Linked DNA regions of Homo sapiens: regions 1, 2, 3, 4 and 5 are each linked to region 6. The links are contacts of gene promoters, found by promoter capture Hi-C in blood cells and fetal thymus (Javierre and others, 2016). All regions are on one chromosome and are shown on one strand. Each heading gives the region's core, a stretch centred on a gene start or on the middle of the fragment in contact. The rest is flanking DNA. Distances are from core to core; before and after follow the strand shown. Region 1 overlaps LOC105369313 (a long non-coding RNA gene). Region 2 overlaps ZFP91 (ZFP91 zinc finger protein, atypical E3 ubiquitin ligase). Region 3 overlaps LPXN (leupaxin). Region 4 overlaps ZFP91 (ZFP91 zinc finger protein, atypical E3 ubiquitin ligase). Region 5 has its middle 5.7 kb from the start of CNTF. Region 6 holds the start of BTBD18 (BTB domain containing 18).

What was found. Contacts are between HindIII fragments. The CHiCAGO score rates a contact against its expected background, and 5 or more counts as called.
Region 1: a contact is called between a fragment that was not itself captured here and the fragment with the promoter of BTBD18 in region 6, in 1 of 17 cell types (total CD8 T cells). The highest score is 5.6, in total CD8 T cells.
Region 2: a fragment that was not itself captured here is called in contact with the fragment with the promoter of BTBD18 in region 6 in 1 of 17 cell types (non-activated CD4 T cells); the score reaches 5.9 in non-activated CD4 T cells.
Region 3: a fragment that was not itself captured here is called in contact with the fragment with the promoter of BTBD18 in region 6 in 5 of 17 cell types (naive CD4 T cells, naive CD8 T cells, total CD8 T cells and 2 more); the score reaches 7.5 in naive CD4 T cells.
Region 4: a fragment that was not itself captured here is called in contact with the fragment with the promoter of BTBD18 in region 6 in 4 of 17 cell types (activated CD4 T cells, total CD8 T cells, naive CD8 T cells and 1 more); the score reaches 7.6 in activated CD4 T cells.
Region 5: a contact is called between a fragment that was not itself captured here and the fragment with the promoter of BTBD18 in region 6, in 3 of 17 cell types (fetal thymus, non-activated CD4 T cells and M0 macrophages). The highest score is 6.0, in fetal thymus.

The regions. Positions count from the first base shown.
Region 1 is chr11:58,493,009-58,497,219 of GRCh38, reverse strand. It overlaps LOC105369313 (a long non-coding RNA gene), which reads left to right. Exons shown (of 5, transcript XR_007062673.1): 5 at 1-3,284. Among named protein-coding and RNA genes, the nearest start is that of OR5B21, 13 kb to the left of the region's middle. The HindIII fragment of the contact is 403 bases long and covers 2,130-2,532 here.
Region 2 is chr11:58,610,005-58,614,180 of GRCh38, reverse strand. ZFP91 (ZFP91 zinc finger protein, atypical E3 ubiquitin ligase) reads right to left here. Exons shown (of 11, transcript NM_053023.5): 3 at 4,142-4,176; 4 at 3,847-3,883; 5 at 3,127-3,231; 6 at 2,443-2,577; 7 at 1,853-1,903; 8 at 1,341-1,419. ZFP91-CNTF (ZFP91-CNTF readthrough (NMD candidate)) reads right to left here. Exons shown (of 13, transcript NR_024091.1): 3 at 4,142-4,176; 4 at 3,847-3,883; 5 at 3,127-3,231; 6 at 2,443-2,577; 7 at 1,853-1,903; 8 at 1,341-1,419. Among named protein-coding and RNA genes, the nearest start is that of CNTF, 11 kb to the left of the region's middle. The HindIII fragment of the contact is 1,495 bases long and covers 1,156-2,650 here.
Region 3 is chr11:58,546,283-58,550,539 of GRCh38, reverse strand. LPXN (leupaxin) reads left to right here. Exons shown (of 9, transcript NM_004811.3): 6 at 394-567; 7 at 673-754. Among named protein-coding and RNA genes, the nearest start is that of LPXN, 27 kb to the left of the region's middle. The HindIII fragment of the contact is 2,737 bases long and covers 1-2,706 here.
Region 4 is chr11:58,588,388-58,592,418 of GRCh38, reverse strand. The region is part of intron 2 of ZFP91 (ZFP91 zinc finger protein, atypical E3 ubiquitin ligase); the gene reads right to left. All of the region lies in intron 2 of ZFP91-CNTF (ZFP91-CNTF readthrough (NMD candidate)), which reads right to left. Among named protein-coding and RNA genes, the nearest start is that of ZFP91-CNTF, 11 kb to the right of the region's middle. The HindIII fragment of the contact is 5,379 bases long and covers 1-4,031 here.
Region 5 is chr11:58,626,353-58,630,319 of GRCh38, reverse strand. No RefSeq gene overlaps it. Among named protein-coding and RNA genes, the nearest start is that of CNTF, 5.7 kb to the right of the region's middle. The HindIII fragment of the contact is 3,706 bases long and covers 28-3,733 here.
Region 6 is chr11:57,749,284-57,753,610 of GRCh38, reverse strand. It overlaps BTBD18 (BTB domain containing 18), which reads left to right and starts at 1,792. Exons shown (of 3, transcript NM_001145101.3): 1 at 1,792-2,070; 2 at 2,375-2,546. The coding sequence starts at 2,423. The region is part of intron 2 of TMX2-CTNND1 (TMX2-CTNND1 readthrough (NMD candidate)); the gene reads right to left. The HindIII fragment of the contact is 11,151 bases long and covers 1,010-4,327 here.

The DNA.
Region 1 (4,211 bases), core at 1,082-3,581, 740 kb before region 6:
GTTATTTTTTGACTTTTTAGTAATAGCCATTCTGACTGGTGTGAGATGGTATCTCATTGTGGTTTTGATTTTCATTTCTCTAATGATCAGTGATTTTAAGCATCTTTCATATGCTTGTTCACTGTATGTTTTCTTTTGAAAACTGTTTGTGTCTTTTGCCCACTTTTTAATGGAGGCTGTTTGTTTTTTGCTTGTTAATTTGAGTCCCTTATAGATTCTGGATATTAGACCTTTGTTGGATGCATAGTTTGCAAATATTTTCTCCCATTCTGTAAGTTGCCCTTTTTACTCTATTTGTTTCTTTTGCTGTCCTCATCCACTCTTAATTCTATGATAATTTCTGATGGCCAAATAATGTTTTACCTTCTTTAAGATTGCTATTTGTGTTGCTAAGAACATCAGAGATAAGATCCTAAATCTTTAGACTTGTTTCTTGAAGTAAGCAGAAAACAGTGGCTAGTGTGCACAAAATTCACATTTCCTAGAGATGTAAAGAGCCTTAGAAGCTGTCCCCTCCTCAAATACTTCCTGATGGTTTTGTGTGTGCTGTGAGCTCTGGTGGGCATTTTCACCTTTGTTGTTTCTCATAATTACCCTGTTAACATTTAGGTTATTATCCTAGTTTTATAGTTGATAAAACCAAGGCCCAAATATGTGAAGTGACTTATCAAGGATTAAACAGATGAAGAAGTGTCATCATTTTCTACTAAATGATAACCTGTGATTTATGAATCAGATTTCCCATTTTATAGATGGTAAAACTAAGGCTCAGATACAGATGCTAAGTGATAGAACCAGGATACCGATTCACTCTTTTGCTGGCCTACAAACCCTTTATACTCTATTCTTACCTCCCCATCATGTTCTACCTTTTTTCAGATGAGAAAACTAAGGCAAAAAAAAAAAAAGAAATCTCAAATGTTTTTTCCCATGTCATATAGATAGACTGGTGGTGTTGAGTCTAGGCTCCAGATTTTCTATCTCCCACTCCACACCACCACCTAGCTGTCCTGCTCAGCATGCTCAGAATCTGTAGGACTCCAGCTGCCTTTTCCAAACCTGGTCGGTGCAATGGCATTCTCACTTTGACTGCAAAACTCCTCACCAAATATAAAACTGAAAATGTAGGCCACCTGTCCATGTGATTGTATTTCATAACTTAGAGCTAAAAATAGCTCTCAGCTTGCTTGGCCTGTATATAACATATTAAAAGCTCAAATTCAAATTCACTCGCATCTTGGATTAATGTTAAGATTATGGCTTTCCAGACTTCTTTCTCTCACATTCTATCTCACCCAGCAGGGAATGGATTGTGCTTGTCCACATTATTTTCTATGTGAATTACTGAGCTCTTATTTTCAAAGATGAATTTCGTGACCTTATGCTCTTTGCTGTACCTGCAGAATTCATTTTGGAGGGCACAGACTCTAGAACCAGACAGCAGGGTAAGGCTGGGTATCTGTGGCCAAGGCATGAAAATTTTGCCTTGATTTCTTCATCTGTGAAATGGAGACGAAATCATACATATTTCCTGAGGCTGTTTTGAGAAGTAAACACACTAATTCATGGCTAGTGTTTAGCTAAAATCTGGACACACACACAGAGTGGACAAATATGATAATTAAAAGCAAAAATCAACAAAATAAAAAATCACCACCGCATAGCATGACCAATTTGTCCTAGTTTGCCTGGAACAATCTGTTTTCTCACTGAAAGCCCCAAATCTCAGAAAATTTCTTAATTCTGGGCAAATTGGAACGGTTGTTTACTCTATTCACCACCAATGAAACAAACAAAAGGTTCTGAGTAATTCATTTATTCAAGAAGTGTTTATTTATAACTAATAAATTCTAGACAGTGTGATGGTATTTTAAAGGTAAACATGACAAAAATGTATCCTCATGGAACACTCAAGCTAATGAGAGAGAATTATGAAAATGGGAAAATTGTATATGTGCTGTCCTGAAAACTGGCATGAAATGGACAAAGAGTGTAATTCTGAGATGCATTGTATTCAGTGGGACACAATCCAGGAATTTCATGGATTACACACTTCTGTCTAATGCTACTTTTTTTTTTCCCCAAGCAAAATGCTATGGGGAGTTAACAGGGTTACATATGAAAAAGCTTTCCATAAGCAGGTAAGTTAAACAGCTTGCTGTTACATTACTACAGTACTTCTCAGCATCTTTAATAGCCTACTGAACACTTAAATCTCAGATGGGGATGTTTTAAGTATTATTTCTGAACTTTTAGACTTTTCAACAACATAGAATTTTTTTAAAACTCATGTGATGGTACCAATATTCCGTAGGGCTTTGACAGAAGGAAAATCTAAGTGGTATTAGGCATTGAACACAGAAAGCTCAAAGTAGGAAGAAAAGTGCCAAACCCCAACTCCTCATAAATAGAGACAGAAGTCATGCTTCAGTCATCAGAGCCAGAGCTGTGGTTCTTAACCGTTTTTCTTTTGGTTCATGAGCCTTGTTTCAGAATTTAATGAGCACATGGATGCATAGAGGATAAGAAGCTTCAATCAAGAGCCTTGAAATTCACAGAGCATGCTGAAGAGATGCTAAGTCTTCTTAGGAATTGAAAAATCTTCTCTAAGTGAATTTTGATCCTTCCTATCAGCAGAGATGGAAAGAACCTGCAGACTGAAATAAATACTAACACAAGAAAGAAATTCCACGTGTGGACTAGCATGGGATAATAGTGTAGAATGCATAGAAGCAGGACTTAGATGAAATATAGTAGTCACTTTCATATATGGAGTGCTTACTATTACATGCTTTATCTTATTTAATCAAGAGATATTTATCCTGGTATTTAGGCTGTGGCTTCTGAAATCAGACTTCTTGGTTTTGAATATTGTTTTTGCCATTTACTGGTGATGCAACCTGGAAGAAATTACTAAAATACCTCTAAGTCTTGTAATTCCCATCTCTAAAGTAGCAATCATAAGACAGTAGTATCTTTTTCATCAGGCTTGTAGAGGTTTCATGACATAATTGCTGCAGGCTGATTTCTAACTCATAGTAAAGCTCAGTAAATATTACCTAATGTTTTTCATATTATTATTAGGTGGATATTATTCTTAGCATTTTCATTTCATGGAAGAGGTAACTGAGAACAGGAGTGATCTATAGCAGACTCTTCCTATCAACCCCATTTAGGGGTTCATTATTGGGGAGAAACAGGAAAGCAGTGTCATATATTTCAGCCTCATTTTTCTCTCAGAAGAAATTATATTAATAAAATAATGTTCTTGGTCTCTTTCTAAATTATTTTTCTCTGAGTCATCCTTTATGCAAGTGATATTTATAACTTTGTGAATCACACCCACACTTGTGTGGGTTCTCTCCTTGGGTCATATGTATTTTTAGTGTGTCTTTATATTTTGGGGACACGGGGAGATGTTCTTTATAACAGATATGTAACTTAAGATACTCTCTTCTGATTTAGGAGGGACCTTCATATCCCAGGACCTGCTGAAGTCATTCCGAACAGGTTTAAGTTGCCTCTGGTCTGTCCTCTGTCCCACCTACACAGCACAAGTAAAAAGGAGAGAGAGAAACCACTGAAACAAAAACATTCTGTATTTTAAAGTCAGAAGCAAAAGTCTTTATTTCCTTTTTTTTTCTTTCTTTTTTTTTTTTTTGAGACGGAGTCTTGCCTTGTCGCCCAGGCTGGAGTGCAGTGGCGCGATCTCAGCTCACTGCAAGCTCTGCCTCCCGGGTTCACGCCATTCTCCTGCCTCAGCCTCCCAAGTAGCTGGGACTACAGGCGCCCGCCACCACGCCCGGCTAATTTTTATATTTTTGTAAAGAGAGGGTTTCACCCTGTTAGCCAGGATGTTCTCGATCTCCTGACCTCGTGATCCACCCGCCTCGGCCTCCCAAAGTGCTCGGATTACAGGTGTGAGCCACCGCCCCCAGCCTCCTTTTTCTTTTTTTCTTTTTTAAAGATTTTGATAAGAACACAACATGAAATCCATCCTCTTCATAAATTTGTAACTGCACAGTACAGTATTGTTAACTATAGGTAAAATGTTGTATAGCAGATCTTGCATAACTGAATTTTTTTTTTTTTGGAGGCAGGATCTCACTCTGTCCCCCAGGCTGAAGTGCAGTGGTACTATCATAGCTCACTGTAACCTCGAACTCCTGGGCTAAAGCAATCCTTCCACCTCAGCTTCCCAAAGAGCTAGG
Region 2 (4,176 bases), core at 654-3,153, 860 kb before region 6:
CTGAAAGTACTTGTCTTTGCTAAGTCAAAAGTACTGAAGGAAAACCAAATACTTAGATTTCACACATGGATAGTGAGGGAGTATAATAAAGTGGCTAAGAACATAGGTGGAAATACACAGACCTGGTTTCCAATCTGGGTCTGTCATTCACTAGCCTTTGTAATCTTAGGAGACAAATATTTCAAGCTCCAGTTCTCATTTGTAAAATGGAGGTAACAATAACCATCTCAAAGTGTTGTTATGGGGATAAGAGATTATGTATTGTACTGTGCTTTAGAGCAGCAAATGGCACACAGCAGAGGAGGAGCGGCTATTGTTATAACTGAACCACGATCCAGAAGAAGGCCTTCGTGTCATGTTATATTTGTTGCTGAAGATCAAACAGGTATTTCCTAAGCAGTATTTCACTTTCACGTTTCCTGCCAGACCTAAATATAAGTGGTACGTTTACTCATCAAAAATAATAATAATAATCTACTCAAGAAAAATAAAAACAAAACCTCAACTAAAAGTCTTTTATTCATTCTACACAGTACCCAAGAAATCACAGGTTTGAGTTCTAATTTTACTTTTTTTCTAAATCACTTTAAAATAAAATGTTACTCTGTATTTACACCACATTGGGAATTACTGTAATATTGAAAGATTCCAACGAAAGTTCTCTATGTGGGTTCAGATTCTTAGTCACCTCTTTTTAAACAGGAGGTGCTATGAATTTGGATGTGTTCACCACAGTTCATGTGTTGGAAACTTAATCCCCAATGTGATAGTGTTGGAAGGCGGGACCTAATGGGAGGTGCTTAGGTCTTAAAGGCTCTACCCTTATATAAATGGGTTGATATTATCATTGGAGTAGATTTGTTACAAAAGCAAGTTCAACCCATTCTTGCCCTTCCACCATGGGCTGACACAGTTAAAAGGCTCTTGTGAGATGTGGGCACCATGCTTTTGGACTTTCCAGTCTCCAGAACCACAAGCTAATAAATAAATATATGTTCTTTGTAAATTACCCAGTCTCAGGTACTCTATTATAGCAGCACAAATGGACTAATCATGATTAACCCATTTATGCTGGAGGTTGCAAATGTATTTTTGTGAAAAATCAGACCTTGGTGATGACCTTGAACAGTAGGATATAAATAACTTGCCCAAGCTTAGCATTCTAATAATGGAACACTAGGCATAAATGGGTTAAAGTCATTTTATGTTTAAAGAAAGACTTTTCTTGACATTACATGTCAATGATAAAGCCTACACAAGCCAACAAATTAAAGTCTCGTGGTGCAAGAACAAGTAATGGAACACAACCTGAAAGGCTCTTATATAACAACTTCACTGACCTGCAAATAGCGAGGATGGGCAAGGACAGTTCCACATCCTTCCATCTCACAACGGACATACTGGATTGGAGGCTTTTTTCTATTATCAAAATGCAGAAGAAAAGTTAGCAAAAAAAAAAAAGTGGTACTCTGCACAGTGGCCTCTGACTTAAACTGTGCTATTGGGAATAGCTATTTTATAGTAGGAAGAATTAAAATCTCTTTACTACTATACAGATTACACAGAATTTGTATTAGAAGTAACCAAGAATTAGCAAATATTTGACAGAATTAAAAAGTAACACAAATAAACTAATGACCCCCCAAAGGTAAAGTATTAAGATTGTTAGAAATTTCAAGCTCTTACAATGAAAATAAGATCATAACACCTGTGCATCTAGGACATTAGTGAAGTTGCTTTTGTGAAATTTTTAAATAGCCATTCCTGCAGGATTATCATGAAGTCTAAATTTGTGAGTAAAGTGCCTGGTACTGGAATAAGGTGTAAAACAGTAGGGGTAAAAATTCCTCACCTCCTTTTGGGTAAACGTGGACTTTTGTCATCTTTTCGTCTTCTTCCTCTCCTGTAATTGAAGACAGGGTAACAGTAGACATATTCTGAATCAAAACTACACAGTGAAGGCTGGCTGAAGACACACACACACACACACGGCCAAAGAACAAGTGGCAAAGGATAACCAAGAATACATAAAGTCAAAGATATATCTGGCAAATCAAGCAAGTAATTTTACCCTGAAGTAATTTCACTTTCAAATCAGTCTGTAAGACAGATTAAATATATACCTTCCATAAACTATGCAATACTATGAAAGACTTAGAAGAATCTCAATGTATTACTTTTAGAGTTGCTACCATGTATCATCTAAAAACACTAAGATTAAAAAATACCTTCTCCTTGCAATAGAACTGAAAAACCTAAACATTTTTTTACTAAGAGTCTCTCCAGTGAAATTGTCAGCTGCTTGAGGCCAAATTTTTTTAAGTTAAAAAATACATATTTTGAAGCATGTATACGTCAACATCCTTCCTCACACTCCCACTCTTTTTTCCACTAGTCGTTCAAAATCTGTTAGATTTTCATTTTTAATAATTGCCTACTCACTTCCTTGGAGGTTCCTCATCCTCTCTAATTTCATTCTCCTCTTCTTTCACCTCCACCTCTACTTCCACTTTAATTTCCTTCTTCTCCTTCTCTTCTTTTACCTTCCCTGATTTTCTCCGTGGCTTTGGGGTTTCCCTGAAAACACAAATGCATTTCAATACTAGACAAAAGATCTTTTCAAGGAAGACTATGACAACAAATTAAAGCTTAGAGTTATCACTGATTTGTTATAAAACTACCTTCCTCAGTTCATGAAATGTGATTTCCTACCAATCATCCTCACATGCATAGTAATGATCCAAATATATGTATATGTTGCTCATGGAATGAACCCTCCCCAGACTAAAGATGCCTGTAAATCAAATTTCACTATAATTGTAAAGAGAAACGAGACAATTAGTTAAAAAATTCTAAGTATTCAGGCAATTCATGATACCTTGTTGAAATAAAACATGCAGACTCATAAAAACTTGTATATAATCAAAATAAAGTTCTACAAATGGGAAAGAGGATTATTATCAGGGTATATTAAGGTGTTAGACTTACAAAAGAAGTGCATAATTAATTACTCATTTAAAATTAATTCTATACCCATTAGCTTGGCAACAGATAAAATAAAAGCATGCAACAGTGCTTTCCTACTTATATTTCATTAACATGTCTGCAGTAAAATCTGAGACATGCCTTTCTAAGTGGGGTTTGTAGGTCTCATCTCTTGGATCATCTTTGAATGGTATCTCCTCTTCACTGATTAACATCTCTTCTTCCTCCTCCTCTTCCTCTTCACTACTAAAAATAAGTAAATAGAAATGAGACATTCTGGTTGTAGCGAACATGTCTGAGGGGATTTTATTTGGTAATTTTTTAAGAGGTAGCCAAACACTGATAAAGTCATCTAGCATTTTCATCCTAATGACCTAATTGGACTGAAATCTAGCTGTTTTATCACAAAGAATAATAATTGAAACTAAAAAGACATAAATCCTAGATAAAGACAGGGTGATGACAACTCAATGGCATTAAAAGTTAAGAAACAACTGACTTTGTAATACTGTCTGGTGATCTGCTATATTAAAAGACCTACTAACAGATAAATCACAACACAAAAGATTCCAATAAAATCTCAAAACCTTGGCCAAAACACCCATATTTCACATTAGTGCCTACCATGGAATAAGTCCAAACACAGAAGATACTCAAGACATGATTTCTAAGCTATGTAAGTAGATTACATGGTTTAAGTTCTAATCAAGCTCAACATGGAATCTAAATGCAGTATCAAAACTGAAGTTAATTTCTCTTACAGCTCAAAATAATTTCAAATGGAAGCAACTTCTGAATCATTTACTGTGACTATGCTATGTCCCCAAAGGTTTAAAAATGAAATATTAATGTTTTTTTTACCTAATGCCACCTGGAGACTGATGCTCTTCTCCAACATCTAGAAAAACAAAGCCAAAAACAAAATTTTATTAGTGTAGATATAAGATATTTTCTCTCTGCAGTCAAGAAATGCAAATCAAATTACTGCATGGGGTAATTATACAAAAGCAGAATATCTGCAAACTGTTCAAAGAAATACCACCTACACCATCAAACCTGCCCCTGACAGTTAAGCTGTTAACACAAATGTTCAACATTACATTTAAAATGTAACAGCAACTAGTTAGTAAACAGCCATATTCTAGTTGCACTGTACCATAATCAAGTTGGTCTGTATTTGGTTCTGACTTG
Region 3 (4,257 bases), core at 89-2,588, 800 kb before region 6:
AGTGTTCAAACTAGAGGAATAAAAACTGTCATTTGGCCTTTTCCTCTTCCAGGGGTCCCTTCCACACTAAGGCTACAGTTACAACTTCTCTGTCATCAATGTGCTATATGTTGTTTCTGCCACCCCCTGTGGCAGTGCAGTGGTTGTGAACATTTACAGGCTTTCATCACAGTGATCAGTCCCGGAAGTGGGCATCCTTTTATTATCAATCCATAAAGCACAGACCACAGATGGCCTTAGGTGGAACCTAGGTCTAGGCCTCAGTGTTGTATAATTCCAGGGCGTGTTGTCTACAAGGGGTACAATGTGAAGAGTGCTCCCTAGAGTTGTGCAACCTGTAGGCTGTAGAGCACTCAACTGGCCTCCTGTGTCAGGCTTTATTTCACTCCACAGGTGATCCATGCTCTAGGGCAATCATGGCATCCTGAGCATTTTGTCTGTACTCATTGCAAAGAAGAGATTGGCTCCAGTCCCTTCTTTGAGCGGAGTGGCTTGGCCTACTGCCCCAACGACTACCACCAACTTTTTTCTCCACGCTGTGCTTACTGCGCTGCTCCCATCCTGGATGTAAGTAAATCCCCGCTCCTCTCCAGCTTTCAGTCACTCACTTAGAACCAGAGTCATGCTTTACAACTTCTGCATCATTATAATATCTGTGTGTTCCCTTTCCAGAAAGTGCTGACAGCAATGAACCAGACCTGGCACCCAGAGCACTTCTTCTGCTCTCACTGCGGAGAGGTGTTTGGTGCAGAAGGTATGACCCGACTTGAGAGGCTGTATCCCACACCCCAGTGGGTAGTTATAAGACCAGCAACACCTTTCCTGGTAGTCACGGGAGTCCTGGTTCCTATCAGTACTATCAAAGTGCCCATTTCAGTACTAGATACCATCCCTCCCTACCTTTCTCCAACATTTATAATTTCCCTTTAAATTGATTTTTTAAATCACAGAAATACAAATGCATAGTTTAAAAACTCAAATATTACTTCAAGGGTAATATTGAAAAAGCCTTTTCTTGTTGAATATTGAAAAAGTCCCTTTCTCATCTCCAAATCCAGTTCTCCTCTCCAAATTATTTTAGCTGTTTCTTCTGATATTTACTTATTTTTTGTTGTTGTTGTTGTTTGTTTTTTTGAGACGGAGTCTCACTGTGTTGCCCAGGCTGGAGTGCAGTGGTGCGATCTCTGGTGCGATCTCCGCCCACTGCAACCTCCACCTCCTGGGTTCAAGCGATTCTCCTGCCTCAGCCTCCCAAGTAGCTGGGACTACAGGCACTTGCCACCACACCCGGTTAATTTTTGTATTTTTAGTAGGGACAATGTTTCACCATATTGGCCAGGCTGGTCTTGAACTCCTGACCTCGTGATCCGCCCGCCTTGGCCTCCCAAAGTGCTGGCATTACAGGCATGAACTACTGCGCCTGGCCTGCTTATGTGTTTTAAATAATAACTTTATATTGTTATAGATTGTTTTATTTTTCCAGTTTTAACCATTATGTATTGACTGTCTAAGAGGGAAGATGAGGTTTAGAAATGTTATTATTACCCCACTCACTCCTAACATATTTCCCCTCCCCTGTTTTTTCAATATATAATTATGTCATAATTACAGGTTAGATCAGTATTAAGTGTGCATATGTTGACAATCATAGAATACTGCTCACAAGTAAGCCATGTAGCAAACTGACTACACTAGAGTCTGGATTTTAGAGTCAGACTTCCAGGTTCAAATCTGGGTTGTGGTATTTGTTCAAGTCATTTAACATCTCTGTACCTTACTTTCCTCATCAGTAAAATAGTCCTAATGAAATTGCCTACCTTATAGGGTTGTTATGAGGATTTAGAGACAATACAAGCGTGGTATTTAGAATAGTGCCAAGCACATGGAGGTATAGTAGTGTTAATATTATTATCACAGTGTCCTTTTGGTATAAATTCATTTTTTTCTAAAGTTAACATTTGAATCCTTTTTGAAATTGGCTTAGTTTTTATTGTACTTATCACTAAGTTATGCAACAGAACTGTGAAATTCTTTTCAAAATGGCCAACTACATCTGGCAACAAGTCAGTTTCTTTCTTTTCTTTTTTTTTTTTCTGGAGATATCCCTCCAGGAGACTTTCCTCCTCCTGATTCAACATGAAATGATTTCTTCCTGCTGAGTAGCAGTCATTCTGGTTCATTAACTTAGAATTATATCTAGTAATTACTCTTGGAAATTCCTTTTATTAGTTTCCTCTTTGGATGCTCTGTTTCCTGGGTCCCATGTCTATGTTTTATACATGTTACCACCTTTATTTTGGTGGGGAACATCCCCTAGTAGCTTTCTGAGAAAGAATTTTTGAGAACTTGAATATCTGAAAATATTTTTATTCTGTCATTGCCCTTAAGTTGCCTGGGCATAGAATTCTAAGTGGAAACTATTTTCCTTCATAATTCTGAAGACATTGCTTCACTGTCTTCTAGCTTCCATGATTGGCAAGTTTTTATTAAATTTTTTTTATCCTTGATCCTTTCTACATGACCCATTCTTCCCCCTTTGTATGTTTGTTTCATGTGTTTTCTGAATTGTCTTGTTTTTTTTAATTTCTCCTTTTTATGTTTGTTTTGAACAAATATGGAATCAGAAAGCTGCTTTACTTTGTTTTTCTCCTGTCCTTTTAGAATGAACTCAGTGGGGAAGGATTTCTCCTCTCATAAATAAAAGCTTGTGCAGTCCTCTGTCTTTTCTGATTACTGTTAAAAAACAGTTCTAAATATAAAATCAATTTAAGAAACAAAACACAAAAACTAAGCCATTAGGTAATTCAGTCTGTGTAATAGTTAAGGCTTCCAGCACTTTAAAAGTGACAGCCACTCCCTCTCTTTTTTAGGACCTTCAAGCTGCAGGAGGCGAGGACAGGGGTATGGCCTTTCCTCTCTCCTGACCTCGCTTTGTTATCTACCACCCTCACCCTTATTGCCAGCCTTGACACCTGCCTGCTCTAGGGTTGAAACACTAGGGAGGATGGAGATGAGAATAGAAGGCAGGAAGGTCTAACTTGTCTAGGATTGTTGTTAAATTGGCTTTATGCTCTCCAGGCTCAGCCAGTGTTTAGCTCTGACTTTTTTCCCTGAATTCTTTTCGGGATTAAGACAGGTCCAGCAGTGAACTCTTGATTGCCCTTTACGTGTCTTGACTAGCTATTCTCTCCTTGTCATGTTTCTTTGAGGATTTGTTTTGTAAAGATTCTTTTTTCAAGGGGCTTTCATTGTTCCCTCCTAGTGAACCCTTAGAAATTATTAACATCGTTCCAGATAATCTCTTCCTCTCATATTTTCATAGAAGGACCATGGATAACTTACTCTTTTCTCTGACAGCCAGTGGAGTTATAATTTTTAGCTGCATGTTTCTATTCAGCTGCCATAGGCTCTTTCAGCCAGACTCATCTATGGACTTTTTCCAGGGGTAACTCTGATACCACTAACTGCATCTCACTAATGCCAAGGCACACATATCCAACTCTCTGAGTCGTCCCAGTGAAGTCCCTCTTTTAACCTGAGGTTATCAAGAACTATACCTCATCTTTCTTGGTGGTGATGGGGCACTCATAGCACAGTTTTCTTCAAAGGAATCCTTCTCTCAGTTTTCCTTTTTCTTTACCTGTTTTCTCCTGAACAAGAGTGAGGAATTCCAGAATTGTACAAGTAATCTTTGACTACCTGTTTGGAGGGATGTTTTGCAGTTCAATTTGGAATTTGATATATATTACATCTTGGTGCCTTACATTTGTTTACACTGGTCTTTCCCAATACTGCTGATCCATGGTTGTCTGTTACTATTTAAGAATGAGACACTAAAATGCTAATTGCAAACTCCATGGATATAGACAGAAATTGTTGACTGGTAGACTTGACTATATGGTACTCAGGTAAGATACTCTGGCCATTTTGTTGAGTGACTCCTGAATATGACAATCTTAGGTCTTTTCTGTTGAGTCAATTATGCTAAAGAGATGTTCTCTTTGCCAGAATTCTGAGATTGAAAAAGGGGATGGGGGAATGGGCTTTTCACCATTCAGCATGTCAACTTTTACTTAATTCCCATTTTTCAGTAGAGAGCTTGACTCGTTTCCTCATGGTGTCCAACATCTCTGATCACTGAGACTCTCTTGTTCAATATTTACAGAAATAATCATTGCATCTTACGGTAAGATAAGGCATCTAACTTTCTAATGGTTCTTTAGACTTTCAACCAGTCCTGTTTCTAGCCTTGAAGAG
Region 4 (4,031 bases), core at 959-3,458, 840 kb before region 6:
AAACATGAAGTGGATAAAGAAAAGGATGTGCAGACTGGACACGGTGGATCATGCCTATAATCCCAGCACTTTGGGAGGCTGAGGCAGGGAGATCATCTGAGGTCAGGAGTTTGAGACCAGGCTGGCCAACATGGTGAAACTCCATCTCTACTAAAAAAATACAAAAAATTAGGCAGATGTGGTGGTACACCACCTCTAATCCCAGCTAATCAGGAGGCTGAGGCAGGAGGATCACTTGAACCCAGGAGGCAGAGGCTGCAGTGAGCCGATATCACGTCACTGCACTCCAGCCTGGGCAAGAGTGAAATTCAGTCTCCAAAAAAAAAAAAAAAAAAAAAAGATGTGCTCAGGGGTTCAAATTCCCAGCTCGAGCATCACAAAAATTACCTCAAAGTTTCTGTGTCTTTCCTGAAAACAATACTTACCTACTACAGCTGCAAAACTGAGATTGCTGAAAACCAAACCCAGGCTGACCTGGCTACAGCCACTGCTAATTGCCTAATATGCCAGCAGCAGAGACCAACACCGAGTCCCTGATATGGCACCATTCCCTGGGGTGATCATCCAGCTCACCTGGTGCAAGGTTCGCTACATTGGACCACTTCCATCATGGAAGTGGCAGTGCTTTGTTGTTACTGGAATAGACTCTAGATACAAATTTGTCTTGCCTGCATAATGCTTCCTACATACATTGCATAATGCTTCCTATATACAAACACAAATTGTATGTCTGAGTCCATTTACACAAAATGTCCAGAAAAAAAACAAATCTATACAGACAGAAAGTAGATTAATGGTTGCCTAGGGTTGGGGGTGAGAATACGGATTAACTATAAACAGGCATGAAGGACATTATTAGGGTGAAGAAAAAGTTCTAAAACTGTATTGTGATAGGTGTGCAATTCATACAATGTACCAAGATCCCTAAATTGTACATTTGAAATGGGTGAATTTTATGATGTATAAATTACATCCCAATAACACTATATTTCAAAAATATACATCACAGTACTAGTCATAAAGACTAATAACTGAAAACTGCCCAAACATCCATCAACAGTAAAACAGTTAAACTGTGGTTATATTCCCACAATGGGACACTATACAACAACTAAAATAAACGATCTATGACAAACACAGCATTTGTCACAAATGATGAGCAAAATAAGCGAGACACAAAAGAGTGCCTACTGTATTATCCCATTTATGTAAAATTCAAAAATTGGCAAATCTAATTTCTGCTAAAGTCAAAATAGTGGTTACACTTGGGGGCGGTTGACTTGAAGGAGCATAAGGGAGTTTCCAAAACAATTATGTTTTATTTCTTCAGTTGTGTAAATGGTTACATGATTGGGCTCACCCTGGGTCCACCCACTTATAAAATAAAGAAGGGGGAGGAGAAACAAGAGTACATGTATATGTCTTATAATATGTGCATTTCTGTATACGTATGGTACATTTTAATAGGATTTCTCTAAAAATCACCTGTAATCTCAGGAAAAAAAAAAAACCCAGAAATATCAAATGCCCTTCAGTTAGGTAACGGTTAAATAATAGAATATAAATGTACAGTAGCCATGACTGGATATCCACAAAGCATCTAGGCACCTCTTCTTTCTTAAAGAATCAATCCCACTCTTAAACACAGTGGGAATCCCAATTAAGCTAAGCTAACAGCATCAAAAAATATGAAATACTCAGGGATATATGGGATAAAAAATTTGAAAGACCTATACACTGAAAAGTACAAAACATTGCTGAGTAAAATTAAAAACCTAAGTAAATGGAGCAGTATATCTTGCTTATAGGGTTGTAAATACTAATATAAATTTTATTTTGATTTTATGACTTCGATTTTCTATTTTTTGTTGCTGATATACAGAAATACAACTGATTGATTATACTGTGGGGGTGGTTTCAAGACACCTTGCAGTTACTGCCTTCAGGATTTTGGAACACTGCGCCACAACCACCATAATATAAAACAAGTCTGAACTGAATGACCAATGAGGAGGGGGGAATGGCCCAACCAGTAAATAATAAATTGCTGTGTTTTAAGCCACTAAATTTTTAGATGGTTTGTTATGAAGCTAAAGAAGCCTTTGCCCGGATAGCATTAGATTATTCAGGCTGGTTTTAATTCAGAGGAATTTCTTCTTTCTTGAACTTAACAGTCAAGGGGCAATATTACTTTTTGTCACAGATTCTTATCCACTAAGGCTCATTTCAAAATGAAGATACAAGCAAGTCTCTCTTAAAGGTTTTGGATTTGTACTGGCTGAATATGGCTTTCCCCACTAAGGATTTTAAGTTTCCTCTGCTTCAGTTTTCTTCTATCAGGGCATTCTGCTTTAACTCTCAAGTGGTCTTGGCAGGAAAAGGGATCTCAATGTAAAATAATATATATAGCAGAATAAACTTATAACTGTGTCGAAGATGGCAATAAGTTGAGCTGTAATAGGCAAATTATTATAAAGTTAAGACTCATTTACCTGATAGGTAATCCCATAACTGAAATAAGCTGATGATCAAGGCTTTTTAAGCCTACATCACAATTCACATATTATAAGTGACATATATCTTTATTTGTAGGAAATTAATAATGGAAAAGAACCAAAGGAGGTTTGGATGTCTGAACTAGCAATACGGATTAAAGGATCTGGGCCATACCCAACATGGAACAAGATGTCTGAGTAAATTATTCTCATACTAAGAGAAATAATACAGTTACTGCTACCTTAAGATAAAAGATTAGGAAGGAAGGACAAACAAAAATGTCTATCTACTGTATTTAGCCTTTGAGGCTTGAACATTATATTGTCAGAAACTTGAGTTTCTGAAACCTAACTGAACTACTCTGTGTATTTCTATCACTAGCTGCACTTTGTTTTCCATAAATAATTAAAGTTTGCTTTGAAATATTAGCCAATCTCAGTAGTATTAAGAGAAGCCAGGGAAAGAGGCTTTTGTTGTTGTTGTTGTTTTTAACTTACATTTAAATTTAGAACAGTATCATTTAATTGGTAAAGGGGAATATTTCAGTTAAAACTAACAGGCTGGGTGTAGTGGCTTATGCCTATAAATTCCAGCACTTTGGGAGGCCGAGGCAAGAGGACTGCCTAGCCAGACCAGGCTAGGCAACACAGTGAGACCCTGTCTCTACAAAAAAATCAAAAACAATTAGCTGGAAATGGCGGCACACTTCTGTAGTCCCAGCTACTTGGGAAGCTGAGGCAGGAGGATGGCTTGAGCCCAGGAGATCAACACTGCAGTGGGCCATGATCACACCACTGCACTCCAGCCTGGGCAATAAAATGAGACCCTGTCTCAAAAACAAACAAAAAAAACCTTAAAAGCCTATCTGAGTGTTAAGACTGGGCTTATACACGCCCTTTCTCACCTACAGATTTTCCTTCCAGAACTCTTTTTCTATTCAAAACCTAAAAGATTTTATTTTGACTGGGAAAACTAGGTCATTAGCAAGGAGATTCAAAATCTTTCAAGAAAGAATTGTGAAGACAATGTTCTCAGTATCTTCTCGATTCTTCCTTTTGTACACAAACTCAAATGGTAAGAATTACAAGTTAGATTTTTCTCACTGGAATGGGAAAAAAAGCATAAAAATGTGTCTTCTGTATTTTTAGAAATAATAAAAATATTCTTTAAATATACTAGAAAGAAAGAAAAACCAACAAAAAAGTATACTATAAAACAGACACATCTGTAAAGGAAGTAAAAACAGTCAATGTTATATTGAGGTTGCAAGTTGACAAGAGGCCAAGATGAATGGGATACAAGAGACTGATTTGAGAGGATACGATAATCAAAGATATTTCAATACATGAAAAATAAAACTGTTGAAATCTATGAAAACTGTTAATAACAAATTAATTCTAATTTTAAAACATGGAGCACAGAGGCATAAGCTATAAATTAGACTGTATCAATATAAGAAAAAAACTGAGGATGTCATCCAGACAGGAGGAAAAATAATCAAAATAAACTAATACTTTAGTAATAATTACAGATAG
Region 5 (3,967 bases), core at 631-3,130, 880 kb before region 6:
GGCCCAGAATATTATTTTTAAAAAGCTTCCCTGAGTGCCTTGTTCAAACGACACTTACCCTGAAATGAGTAACATATTTAGCCATTACTCAGAATGCATTCCTCAGAATGGGCCACATCTTTCCCCCATCATATCAGGGGAAGGATGAAATATAGCACCCTCAAATTATAGTAGAGGTGGGGGTTGGAGTGGCAAAAGAAGTCTGGATGAGGTGCTGTTCCTAGAGCTTCTAAAGGATTATTAGAGTTGAGGGAGCTAGAGGGCGCTGCATACAAGAGAGCAAGAAAGACCAGATGTTTCCTAAAATGAGGTTGGTTTGATGGAGAAGCAGGAAAGTGCAGCCAGGGGATCCATGGACTGTAGGTCTCATTCTGCCACTTTTTAGCTGGGATGTCAGGGCAAATTGCTGAACCTCTTTGGCTTCTTCATGTTATGTTTAACGAAGGGATTGAACTAAATGAAGTTTGAGTTCCTTCTGGTATTAACAGGAGGGTGTAGGCGTACGGTGGGATGATTCTAAGTCTAAACGCATGCTTTAATGTATCCTGGGCAGCTCCTTAGACGGCATGTTTCCTTGGCTCCCTCTGGAGCCTACCAGGCTTCTCCAGGACTTGTCTGACCATGCCTACCGTGAAAGCTGCCTCCTGGGTGAATGGCCTGGGTTGTAACTCTCCAGGGAAGTGGATGATTCCTGGAGGCTGTGAGTGAGACTGCTGGGTCAACCTCCAGTGGCCAAAGGCCAATAGGCACAATAGGGTGAAGTTGAGGCTGTGGCCAGATCATTCCTGGTAAGCAGGTGGTATTCTCTGAGATACTTAGGAGCTTGCTCCTCAATCAACTCTGAATCCAAGCTACCTGAGGCATTAAATATACCTGATGATGTCTGCATGTCAGTTACAAGTAATTTCAGATACTCAATTTGTCTATAACAACTGTGTAGTTAGCTATTTTTCATCATTTTCATTTCACAAATGAGGAAGCTCAGAAAAAAGAGTGACTTGTCTGAAAGTTTAGAAACTTATATAGACTTCGTTACAAAGCAAAATTCTGTACAAGCCTGTATTGGCTTTAGCCAAGGAGAGTGGATTAGAGACAGAGAATGGATTTCAGAATAAGAGAATTTTGATTACCAGATGTCCTATGGCACAAGATGTAGTGAAGTGAGCTTTAGAGCCAGAATTAAGACTCCAGCCCTGTCAGGTGCTAGAGGAGGAAATTTGGGCAAGTTAATGCTCATTCTCATTTTCCTCATCTAAGAGATATGTCAGAGGATTAAATAATATAAAATAATGCAGAGCTGCCTGACATGTTACATTATTCCCTTTCATACTACCTTAAATATGTGGATAGAAATACAGAATCTCTCAGTAACTGTTTCATATTTTCCTCTATGTGATTTTCAACAATTTGGTTTCTACCTCCAACCTGACTAAAAATGGGCTAGTCAGGGTTCTTCTCTTGAAGTCAAAGGCTTAATGGGGGGGGGGGGGTGGTCAGCTACTTGCAATTAAGCCATATAAAAGGAAATCATTCTCATCTGCAGTCTAGCTGATAGGACTACGTATTCAGAGGGCAAAGCATTGGCCTGGTGATATAGGGGCAATCTACCTTTTCTAGGCTGACTGGCCCTGGGAGTTTTGCCCAGTGTGAGTGGCCTGGCACCATGGAGATTTACTCAGCACGCTTGATTGGGCCTGGCCCTGGCTAGGAGGATTATGCTTCATCCAATGCTGAAGTCACTTGAAATTCCCCTCATTCATCCAAAGATACAGAAAAGAAGTAACTTATGGTATTGCTGAGAAAAGAACTTTATTGTTAGCTATTCTTGCATCTTTTGTTTTCTATGTGTTCAAACCAGATTGATCGAAATAATCTTTTATATTAAGAATCATAAGCACATAGATTTTATCTCACACCCAGACACTTCATCAAACCATCAAATTATCTTATTCTGTCTTTATCTGTAGTTCTCAGAGGGCTACAGAAGCCAAGAAATGAAGTTTTTATCATTTTTCGCTTTTGAATGCACCCACATTCAGAGAGCTCATTCTTGGGTGGGTCTGACGCTTGCAGTGGAGGTGGGATGAGGCAGGAGGCCAAAGCATTCCTTTTAAGAAATGTCCTGACCTAAACAGTACATTAACAGTACATTAGTCACACACGCGCGCGCGCGCACACACACACACACACACACACACACACACACACACACAGAATCAACTGAAGTGAAATCAAAATTCTACTCCCCCCTACCCCCTTCCTCTTTACCAATCCCCTTTACATCCTGGTGGAGGTCTCTCTGCTTCCCGTGTCTCTATTTCACCCCTTAACAGAGATGCTCAGGTACCTCATGAGGAGCTGAGGATTCACAAACAAAATTCAATCTAAATAACTTTTCAGATATGTCTTCCTGAAATATTTACTAGTCCTCTCCCTGTCTGACAAGTGATCACAACAATGAGTCATCCTTTGGGCATTGATCCATAGCAGCTTGAAATAACAGCAATACCAGAGCTATGACTTTACATTTTCCATTTTTATTAAAACTCTCCCTTCACTTAAACCTGATTATCTTAAGGCTAATTTTATTCCATGCTTGGCTTTCAAGTTTGTGCTGATTTGCGAGCCTTTTCCAAATCACCCTCTTACATGAATGCAAGAAAAACTCTCATCCATGCAATTCCTTGACTCAGGAAAACAAGATCTCTTTACCCACAGAGGACTTTTCAGAAGGTACTCTCTGAAAAGGAGGCAGAAGAAATTGTTTTTACAAAATGAGTTAGGGCTAGAAACTAAATCTATGTACCTTAAACTATAATTCAATCTATATAGTTATACCATATATGATTTCCCAGAGATCTTATCCATATCAGATCAACAGAATAAAACCTAATGAACAAAATCTTCTTGGGGTTCTATATTCCTAAAAAAACGTAATTCCATAGTGTCATCGTTATCCTCTTCTTTACTATAAGGCACACATCTAGAATACTAATCCATTCAGTCCCTTTTTCTATTTATCCATTTCAAATAAACATGATGCAATGTCTACACATTCAGATCTCATACATGTTGATTTTTGTTGCATGGTCTACTGCTCATTTCCCCTTTATCTTTTTCTAAGATTAGCTTTCCCCACACTTCTTTTGGGTGCATATTGTATGCTTCCTGAAAGACAAGTACACAGCGTTTTGCAAAGTGCTGACAATGCACTTGGTAAAGACTTGGTGATTCTGTGACTTAATTGTGACTTACACATTTTTCTATCTCCTCCCATTCAGTGGTTAGTACTTGTGCCTTTTGTGGACCCTCTGCCACTTCAAATCCGCCTCTTATACATACATATTCCTTTACATGCAACTCATGAGAGCTTAAGCCAAGCTCCACTGAGTTCTGAAACTTCTGCAGATGTCTGCTGCTGTACCTGCTGAACATAAAAACACTTGGAGAGGGGACACTCATTTTTTAAAAACATTTTTGATGGAGGGAGTATGGGGGCAACATCTTTTAATTTTTTATTTAAAAAATTTCAAAAATTTATTTTTACATGTATAATTGATGGGGTCATTTTAGATGCAGCAAATTCATAGTCAGTTATTCCCCATTAAGAAATTGTAGACATATTTCTCCATTGAACAGAAGTATTATCCAGATAGCTCTAAGAGCTTCATATTAATAAGCAGAAATTTTATTATTTGAGAATGCTGCTGTTAAGCAGAATTAAGAGAAAGCTTGAATGGAATAAGACTATACATTCAGTGCCAAAATTACAAATGATCACCTCTTCCCTTCTCTCATGACTTCTCTTTTGTACTCAACCAGTACAGAGTATTTTGTAGTTTTGTACTGAGACACAACTCCTACCTCCTCCGGGAAACTACTTTGGGCCCCTCTCCTTCCTTTAGCTTCCTAACAAACCTGGGACTTATAATTTCGACTATGTGTGTGTGTGTGTGTGTGTGTGTGT
Region 6 (4,327 bases), core at 543-3,042:
ACCTTATTCCATAACATCTCTGGTCTTAGGAGATTTCTAAATTAGCCATATGGGGGACCCGGTGTTACCAGAGCCATCCAGAGACTTCCATCACGAAACATGGAGCGCTCCAGGCAGAGCCAAGGGCATCTACTGCCTCTTCAAAGGGAAGACGGACATGACCCTTAACCGCCTTGGCGCCTGCTCTACTACAGCATCCCTACCCTCTTTTTCGGTGTGTTTTCATCAAGTGCTGAGGCAGACGACGGCTTTCACAAGAATTCCTCCCTGACGGGCCCATCCCCCTGCCTCTTGCAGCCCAGCCATCTTCCCTCAGCCCTCAAGTCCCTCGAGACTTAGCCTCCCGCCCAAAGCGCTCCTCCTGTTCTGATTGGTTCTCCCGGGAGCCTTCGGCCAATGGGGATGACGTATGCCGGACGACGTAGGCCCGAGGACTCGGGAGGAGGAGGGGCGTAGGGCTCTGCGACGCGCAGCGCGCTAGGACGGTGGCACGAGGTGTGTGGCGCTGGCCGCGTGGCCTTACAACCCTCGCTATCACTACCACCCAGTGCATGTGGGTGCTGAAGCCCGCAGGGATACAAGGGCGCCAGGGGCTGCCTGCAAAGTCTATGCTGGCGGAGGTGGCCGTGACGGGAAGTCCTGACTTTGGGCCTCCCGGATCCCCACGGTCCATTCCCAGAAACCCTCGCGCCTAGGAGTCTTTCTTCAAAGGAGTTGGGCCAGGGCGCCCAAGCGTGCGGGCCACCCCGCTTTGCAGGGCTCTCCCTGAAGCCCTGCTTTCTCCGCCAACACCGATTCCCTTGCTTCTGGATGGGGAGGTGAAGCACTCAGCCGTTGGCCCACCTGCGCATCTTTGCTCAGCCTCCTGACTCAACGCTGAACATTGAGAGGAAGCAAGGCAGGCTGGACAGAGGACAAGCACAGAGAAGGCAACAGGAGCAAAGTCTACCGAAAAGCTATTTCAAGTTGGGTCTGGAGGCAAGGCCAGGCGATCGTGGATTGAGAAGCTTCCCCAGGGCCCTTGCAACAGCTGCCATCCTCCATCCACATCTCTCTCACTGGGATGGGAATTTTTTTTTTTTTTTTGAGACGGAGTCTCGCTCTGTCGCCCAGGCTGGAGTGCAGTGGCTCTATCTACAACCTCTGCCTCCCAGGTTCAAGCGATTCTCCCACCTCAGCCTCCTGAGTAGCTGAGATTACAGGCGCCTGCCACCATGCCCGGCTAATTTTCGTATTTTTGTAGAGACGGGGAGTCACCATGTTGGCCAGGCTGGTCTCAAACTCCTAACCTCAGGTGATCCACCCGCCTCGGCCTCCCAAAGTGCTGGGATTACAGGCGTGAGCCACCCCGCCCAGCCAAGCCCGCCTTCTCTTAATTTACCTTTTCATTCTTCTTTCCTGATAGTTTTGACGTGAACTGTTCGGACCCTCAGTGCTACCTGATAGAAAACTGCATTCCAGGAAAGGAACACAGCTGTGCAGTGAGTGGGGGGGTTTCGGAGCTAAAAAGCTGGACATAAGCCTGAAGTCAGAATACTCAGTTTGTTTTGGGAGGGGTAAAATGCTTTACTATCCTTGCTGCATTGTTAGCCTGGTAATTAACTATACAAACGTAAAGGCCAAATTCTTTGCCTACTACCAGGGTCAGTCAGGCTCGCTTTGGTCAAGTACACCCAGCCAAGGGTGGCAACGTCCTTGGTTCTGTGAGAGACCTTCCCGCAGAGTCAGAGGCTTCTCTTCTTTATTGTGCACCCTCTGCTGGTTAGTGTGATACAGTGAGCTCAGAGAAAAGGCGCATACGACTTACTAGAGATAATTTTATACCCAGTAATGTTTCCTTAAAAGTGTTAACTTGAAGATTATACCTGTGGAGCTGGGATGTGGTGCTCAGGAAGAATATAAGTAGTCAGCATTGTAGCAGTTGAGTCTCAGTGGTAATGGAAATGAGGAAGGTTGAAGGATAATAATAGTTACCATTTGGGGCTTGGTAGTTATTTTGTGCCAGGCACTCACTGTGCTAAGCAACTTTACCTTCACTGACTCATTTAATCTTTAAAACAACCCTACAAGGTAAGTACTATTATTCTATTTCATGGATAGGAAAGTGAGACTCAGAGAAGTTAGGTCACCTGTGTGAGATTATACAGCCAGGCTAATAAATAGAGCCAAGACCCAAACCTAGGCTTATCTCTGAGCTCCCACATGTAACCACTATGATAATTTTCTTTCTTGAGATATCCTTGGCACAATTTCTGGGCTGATGTTTCCTCAACTCATACTATTATCTCTCACTTTCAAAATTCCCCTGCCATTTCAAAGACAAAAAACAAATTAGATGTAACCATGCCTCTGAAATGTATTATCTCACCTACAGGAGTCTGATCTGTGAAAACCTAGAAGGTTTGTTAAGACTCTTGCCAACATGTGCTCTCCTGCCAGTCCCAAAATCCTATACAGGAACCCCCGGTTCCTCAGGTTAGCTTTTCTGCAGCTTCATCACCAGCAGCAGAGTGATGTGTTCTGTGATGTCCTTCTGCAGGCAGAAGGTAAGAGAGTGGTCGGAATTCAACTGAAAACTCACCATAGAATAAGATAAAATGAGTTCAGAGCCAGAGGGTAAAGGACAAAATCAGCAAAATATTACTGCCTATGACCACTGTAAACTATTTGGTAAAGGGCTGTTTGTTTCTAGGACAATTACTACTGTTTTCAAGAGTGAAATTGTGACTTTGCTTCTTTCTCTTAAATAATGAATCTAATTGTAAAGTTTTATAAGCAGATACATTCTATATAACATGGATAATATTCCAATGGGATGGTTGTGAAGATTAAGAGTTAATGTGGGTAAGCACTTAGAATAGTGCTTTTAATATACTAACCACAATATGTGTTAGATGATACTATTATGTTTTCTTTTTGAGAGTCTCACTCTCTTGCCCAGGCAGGAGTGTGGTGGCACAATCACAGCTACCTGCAACCTCCACCTCCTGGGTTCAAGTGATTCTCATGCCTTAGCTTTCTCAAGTAGCTGAGATTACAGGCATGCGCCACTACGCCCAGCTAACTTTTGTATTTTTAGTAGAGATGAGGTTTTGCCATGATGGCCAGGCTGGTCTCAAACTCCTGGCCTCAAGTGATCCACCCGCCTGGGCTTGCCAAAGTGCTGGGATTATAGGCGTGAGCCACCACGTCCGACCCTTTTCCCATTTTCTTTTTTGTTGTTGTTTTGTTTTTGAGACAGAGTCTCTCTCTGTCTCCCAGGCTGGAGTGCAATGGCACGGTCTCAGCTCACTGCAACCTCCACCTCCCGCGTTCAAGCGATTCTGCCGCCTCAGCCTCCCGAGTAGCTGGGACTACAGGTGCGTGCCACCACACCCGGAAAATTTTTTGTATTTTTAGTAGAGATGGGGTTTCACTATGTTGGCCAGACTGGTCTCGAACTCCTGACCTCATGATTCACCTGCCTCAGCCTCCCAAAGTGCTGGGATTACAGGCGTGAGCCACGTTGCCCGGCCTGCTTAATTTATTTAATCTTCAAATTGATGACTTTTGTTGTTTGTTGCTAGAACTAAAAATGTATAGGTTATTTCCACCCCTTCACTTCACACTGGAAATGTTAATTCAGCATAAAGTAGACCCTGATATATAATGTACAAGGCCCAAGATTAGGAGTCAGAGTTACTAAGTAGATCCTGATATATAAAGGCCCAAGAAATGGGCAGGTAACTTCATCTCTCTGGGGCTCAATGTCTTCATTTATAAAAAATAATTATGATAACCAATATTGTATACCACTCTACAGTTTGTGGATTACATACAGTATAGTGTCTCATTTGATTTTTTTTTTTTTTTTTTTTTTTTTTTTGAGATTCTTGCGCTGTCGCCCAGGCTGAAGTGCAATTGCGCGGTCTCAGCTCACTGCTGTCTCCGCCTTCTGGGTTCAAGCGATTCTCCTCCCTCAGTCTCCTGAGTAGCTGGGATTACAGGGATATGCCACCACACCTGGCTAATTTTTGTATTTTTTAGTAGAGACCGGGTTTCACCATGTTGGCCAGGCTGGTCTTGAACTCCTGACCTCAGGTGATCCACCTGCCTTGGCCTCTCAAAGTGCTGGGATTACAGGTGTGAGCCACACACCCGGCCATGTCTCATCTGATTCTAACAGTCTTGTAAGAGAAGCCTTAGCTATATGGTTCCAATTCTACATATGAATGAGTTGAGGACTACAGTTAAGTGATTTGCCTGCTGCTTCTCTTAGTAAGTGCAGAGTTGAGATTGACTATTTAATTCCAAATAAAGAAAAAAGTATCAGTTGCCTGTTGTATGC